Regions from separate parts of the Homo sapiens genome. Here region 2 is linked to region 1. Evidence: promoter capture Hi-C in 16 types of primary human blood cells and fetal thymus (Javierre and others, 2016). All regions are on one chromosome and are shown on one strand. Each heading gives the region's core, a stretch centred on a gene start or on the middle of the fragment in contact. The rest is flanking DNA. Distances are from core to core; before and after follow the strand shown.

Region 1 (2,726 bases), core at 121-2,620:
AATGGAGCTGCCTTCTCTGCTGCTTGTATGAGTCCCAACAGCAGCTCTGGTCAGATCCAGCATTTTCTCACTTTCACTAGGGCTGTAGCCCCAAAATAAATCTTTAGAAGTGGTGGCTGTGTAAATCAGCAGCATTTTGGAATTATATCTCTTGATGGATTTGATCGATAGCTAACTGCCTCCCCCACTAAACCCAGAGCTCCGTGACAGCAGGGAAGGCAAACTTCAAAAATATCAAAAAGCACAACCTTATTAAAAAGGAGAAACACCCCCAGTTCACCAGGAGCACCTTGGATTCAGCTGCTCCTGCCAAGGGTCTGAACTGCACGGGGGAATGGAGAGAAACAGGTCACGTGGGCCGGGGTCTCTGGGCCCGCTGTGGGGGTGTCAGTTTGCTCATAGGTGGAGACACTCGATGTGACATTAACAGCACCTTCAAGCCCAAGGACCCAGAGATTCTGACACAAGAACTGAGAACTGATTGCATTTCCGTGACTCAGCGACACCCTCCTACCTGGGCATGAACCCAGCCCTAGCCAAAGATCCAGAGACCCGACTCCCATCTATTTCCTTTTCCTCTCTCCCTCCCCGTCACCAATTCTACTGGTCAGATGTCCCTGGGATGCACCTGTCCTCCCCAGCCCCTCCGTTCCCATCGGAGTTCAGGCCTCATCATCTCCTGCCTGGACCATTAGCCTCTTAACTGGCCCCTCCGCTTCCAGGCTCCCTTCCATATATCCGGGTTCCACCCCGGGGGCCATTCTAAAAGGCAGATCAGGCCCATCCCAGTCTGGCCAGCGGCTCCACATTCACTCAGACTCACATCCTGGACCCATGGTCGGGCATTAGAGACCTGCCACGATTCAACATTCCACGGCCTTTCCAGCTTAGGTCCTCATCTCACACTCCCTCTCCTCTGAGCTCCCCCTGGGAGACTTACAGACACCCCGACGCTTGGCAAGGCCATAGGATGTTTTTGTTTGGTTTGGTTTGGTTTTTCTGAGACAGTCTCACTCTGTCACCCAGGCTGGAGTGCAGTGGCACGATCTTGGCTCACTGCAACCTCCGAAGGCCATAGGATGTTTGGGTCATTCCCTGGGGAGTCCTGTCAGGCCAGGAACGAGGGGACCCTGGGAACAAGGTGCTGAGTGGCATCAGGGTCTCTGCCTGCAGGCGGGGGATGTGTCTGGGTCGTGGTTGATGGGAAGAACCTGACCATAGATTCCCCATGCAGAGCTGACGATTAGCAATTAACTGGGAGGAATCTCAGGGGTGAGGTTAATTGGGGGACAGAGGGAGGGCAGCTAGGGTTCCAGGGACTTTGCCCTTGACCCAAGAGTATAAAGAGGAGGGTCTCAGTTCTCCTCAGGGTCCTGGAGGCTTCATTGAGCTGCTGAGCAGAAGCTGAAACACAGAATTCTAAGGTGAGCCCAGGACCCTCACATCCCAACCCCACCCCCAGCTCTGAGTAGGAAACAGCCCAGCACCCCAGCCCCTTCATCTGTGTCCTATCTGCGCCCACCCCCACCGCGCCCCATATAACATGTCAGTCCAGCCAATCGCGGTGGCTCCCACCTGTAATCCCAGCACTTTGGGAAGCCGAGTGGGCGGATCACCTGAGGTCGAGTTTGCACTAAAAATACAAAAAATTAGCCAGGTGTGGTGGCAGGCACCTGTAATCCCAGCTACTTGGGAGGCTGAGGCAGGAGAATCGCTTGAACCCACGAGGCAGAGGTTGCAGTGAGCCAAGATTGTGCCACTGCACTCCAGCCTGGGCGGTAAGAGTGAAACTCCATCTCAAAAAAAAAAAAAAAAAGGACTCCTGCTCCTTCAGGACTTGAATTCAACTCTTCACACCCCTACAACAGCCAAGGACGCTGGGACAATGCGGGGAGTGCTGAGGCAGATCAGGGCACTCCACCCCAATAGCCAAGACTCCTGGGGCAGTGCGGGGACAAGGGGGGGCTGAGGCAAGCCTGTCAGTGTTTGTTCATTGCCCCTTGAGGGGGTGGATGGGGAAAGGAATTCATTGTGAGGGGAACCCAGGAACTCGGGATCCGGCCCAGGGGATCTCCGTGTGTGCCCAGCTGACCCCATGAGAAGGCAGGTGTCTGCAGCTCCTCCTTGCTCTCCAGGTGGGCAAAACTGAAGCCCGGCCCAGCCCCAGCCCACACCTGCAGCCACTGCCAACACCACGTATTCCCTGGCCCCCTCCAGCCCCAAACAGGCTGGGCGTCCTCAGTTCTCAGTGTCTTTTATCAATGCTATATCCAAGCCTCTGGTTCGGAGCCTGGGCTAGAGCTCAATAATACTCATTGAATGAGTGAATGGTGAATGAATGATCACCTCACCACCACCACACACACCCCTCCGAGACTCACATGCAGGTGCCCAGCACAGATGTGCACATGTGAGTCTGCATGTGAGTCTCGGAGGGCTGTGGTGGTGATGATGGAGGGTGTGGTTTGCTGGGTGTGTGTTTGTGCGTGTGAGTCTCGGAGGGGTGTGTGTGTGTGGTGAGGATGGAGGGTGTGCTTTGCTAGGTGTGTATTTGGAATCATGCGCCATGGGGGTTTGTGCAGGTGAGGGTGTGTGGGCATGAGTGTCCCGGACACAGCTATTGTCATTCAGCGTTGCTGAGACCCACTGACCTGCAGACCTCATAGTGGGTGCCCAGGATGTTGTCCTACGGAGAGAGGCTGGGGTCCCCTGCTGTCTCCCCACTC
Region 2 (2,920 bases), core at 139-2,638, 37 kb before region 1:
TCTGCCCGCTCCTGCTCCTGCCTCACCACTGTTTGCTCTGGCTGAGGAACAAGTTGGTCAGGAAGGCTCGCAGCAGCCATGGCATGCATTTATTTATTTATTTATTTATTTATTTATTTATTTATTTATTTATTTTTTGAGACAGTCTCGCTCTGTCGCCCAGGCTGGAGTGCAGTGGCATAATCTCAGCTCTCTGCTACTTCTGCCTCCCAGGTTCAAGCAATTCTCCTGCCTCAGCCTCCAGAGTAACTGGGACTACAAGCGCCCGCCACCACACCCAGCTAATTTTTGTATTTTTAATAGAGACGGGGTTTCACCGTGTTGGCCAGGATGGTCTCGAACTCCCGACCTCAGGTGATCTGCCTGCCTCGGCCTCCCAAAGTGCTGGGATTACAGGCGTGAGCCACCGCACCCGGCCCACCCACGGCTTTAAAGATACCTGAAGAAAACCTGCGGAGCCAGAGGTGACAATTCACTGAATCTGAATCACTTTAATGAGCTGCAACATAGAATCCCCAGAAAAGGTGTGTGCTGACTTGATCAGAGGAGCAAAGGAAAAGAATCTCAAAGTGAAAAGACCAGCTGGAACGCCTATCAAGGCTTCGAGAATCACCACAAGAAAAACTCCTTGTGAAGGTTCTAACACACGGGATCGTTTCCAGATGAGAATCCACAAGTGGCTCACTGACCTCCACAGTCCTTCTGAGATTAAGCAGATTACTTCCATCAGTATTGAGCCAGGAGTTGAGGTGGAAGTCACCATTGCAGATATTTAAAGTTGACTATTTTAATAAATTGATTACCGGTTGTTGTTTTTTTTTTAAAAAAAGCAAGCTTCTATAGCTATACCCATAACAAAATGTAAAAAGGGGTTCTTCTTAATGATAAAAGATTCCATTTACCTACAGATATAATAAATCTAAGTTTTTGTATGTACCTAATTTGGCCTCAAAACATATAAAACAGAAACTGACAGAACTACAAAGATGCAGACAAATCCATATACAGAAATTTTTTTAACACTTTTTTTTTTTTTGAGATGGGGTCTTACTATGCTGCCTGGGCTGGTTTTGAACTCCTTGACTCAAGCAATCCTCCTGCCTCAGCCTCCCCAGTAGCTGACACTTACAGGCACGTGTCACCTTGCCCAGCCATACACAGAAATTTTTAACAAAGCTCTCTTAGTAACTTATAAAAGCAAGCAGACAAAAACATGAGGAAAGCTAGAGAAGATCCGAACTCAATCTTAACCCTGGCTGCACAGCAGACCCACCTGGGAAGCTCAGAAAGCAAGTTTGACCTAAAGAACCTACGTGGCACACTGTAGTCAACAAGTAGAGAATCCACATTCATAAGCACAAACAGAACGCGTCCAAAAAATCTGACCATGATGCAATTCCATCAGCTATCTAACAATAATAAACAATTTTAAAAGATAACTAAAATAGCCCTCATATATTTGAAAACTTTAAAAAAAAATATCTCACATGTACAAAAGTCAGCCCAGAAACCAGATTTCAAATGGTCTCTTTGGTGCCCAGGAGTTTTCTGCACCTGGGGACAACACCCTGAAGAAAGACCAGGCTGTTGGGAGGCTGACCTCAGAGCAGAAGGGCAACTGAGTGAGGGAGGTGGGAAAGGAAAACCCACACACCCATTCCCAGCATGTTCACGGGGAGGCTGGTTTCAGGAATGAGCACATGAGACAGTGGAGGACCTGGAAACAGACTCCTCCAGGACTACGCAGGCCTTGGAAAGTCTTCATGACCCCAGATTAAAACTGCAGATTAGTAGAGACATACTATGATACAGACAATAGAAGGCCTCTGGAGGATCTTAAGCAGGCAAGGCACAGGCTGGAAATGATTCAGAAGCTGCTTTTGGGGACAAACACGATATGACCACAGTTCTTAACCCACAGCAAACCCACCTGGGGAGCTCAGAAAGCTTAATGCCTTGGTCCTACACCAGGCCAACTACATCAGAATCACCTGGCAATAAGAGGCTATTTTACAGTTCAGCAGTTTCCACATCTCTGCTTGCAACGAAACGGAATGCAGATGTAATCAACAGTCAGCCGAAACATCATCAAAAATTTTGATAAAAGATCACTGCATGACGTTGGGTTTATAAACCAAAAGAAGATCAAAATATTCAGTGATGCTGCTCTACCAAAACTCCCGCTGTGCCAGGCACAGTGGTGGTGAGCACCTGTGTCCCAGATACTCAGAGGCTGAGGTGGGAAGATTGCTTGAGTCCAAGAGTTCAAGATAAGACTGGGCAACATAGTAAGATCCCATCTATAATAGAAATTTAAAATTTTAAAAATAACCCCATCTCCAACTACTATTTAAGAGAACACAGTTTCTCAGAATTCATGTACATAAAAACAAAAAGTAGAAGTGGTACTGAACTTGTCTTATTCTGACAGTATTATCCATCCAGATGGGGGTGGGGGGTGACATCCTACTGAGATCTCATGTTTCAAAAAATGTTTACTTTTGTATAATTACTCAAAAACTGTGTAATGCATTTACTTTTATCAAGTGTGTACAGATAATTATAATAATCTCAAACAAAATATTAAAAGTTTCAGTCTCAACAAAATTGAAAAGTTTAAATTATTATATTAATTTTACTTGCAGAAGAATATGGTAGGCTAATGAATAACATTTTCAAGCATTAAATATATTGCATTAGGATAATATTCTGTGTGGAAATGAAAGTACAAGTTCAATTAAAAAACTGACATACTGGCCAGGCACAGTGGCTCACACCTGTAATCCTAGCACTTTGGGAGGCCGAGGTGGGCAGATCACTTGAGGCCAGGAGTCGGAGACCAGCCTCGCAAACATGGCAAAACCTCATCTCTACTAAAAATACAAAAAATTAGCTGGACATGGCAGTGCGCGCCTGTAAT

Evidence for each region. The method cuts DNA at HindIII sites, captures the fragments that hold promoters and counts their contacts. A CHiCAGO score of 5 or more calls a contact.
Region 2: a contact is called between a fragment that was not itself captured here and the fragment with the promoter of SLC34A1 in region 1, in 9 of 17 cell types (non-activated CD4 T cells, total CD8 T cells, activated CD4 T cells and 6 more). The highest score is 8.5, in non-activated CD4 T cells.

Annotation. Positions count from the first base shown.
Region 1 is chr5:177,383,064-177,385,789 of GRCh38, forward strand. SLC34A1 (solute carrier family 34 member 1) reads left to right here and starts at 1,371. Exons shown (of 13, transcript NM_003052.5): 1 at 1,371-1,424; 2 at 2,632-2,726. The coding sequence starts at 2,679. The HindIII fragment of the contact is 19,795 bases long and covers 1-2,726 here.
Region 2 is chr5:177,345,650-177,348,569 of GRCh38, forward strand. The region is part of intron 2 of LMAN2 (lectin, mannose binding 2); the gene reads right to left. It also overlaps the pseudogene RPS20P17. Among named protein-coding and RNA genes, the nearest start is that of LMAN2, 4.6 kb to the right of the region's middle. The HindIII fragment of the contact is 1,113 bases long and covers 833-1,945 here.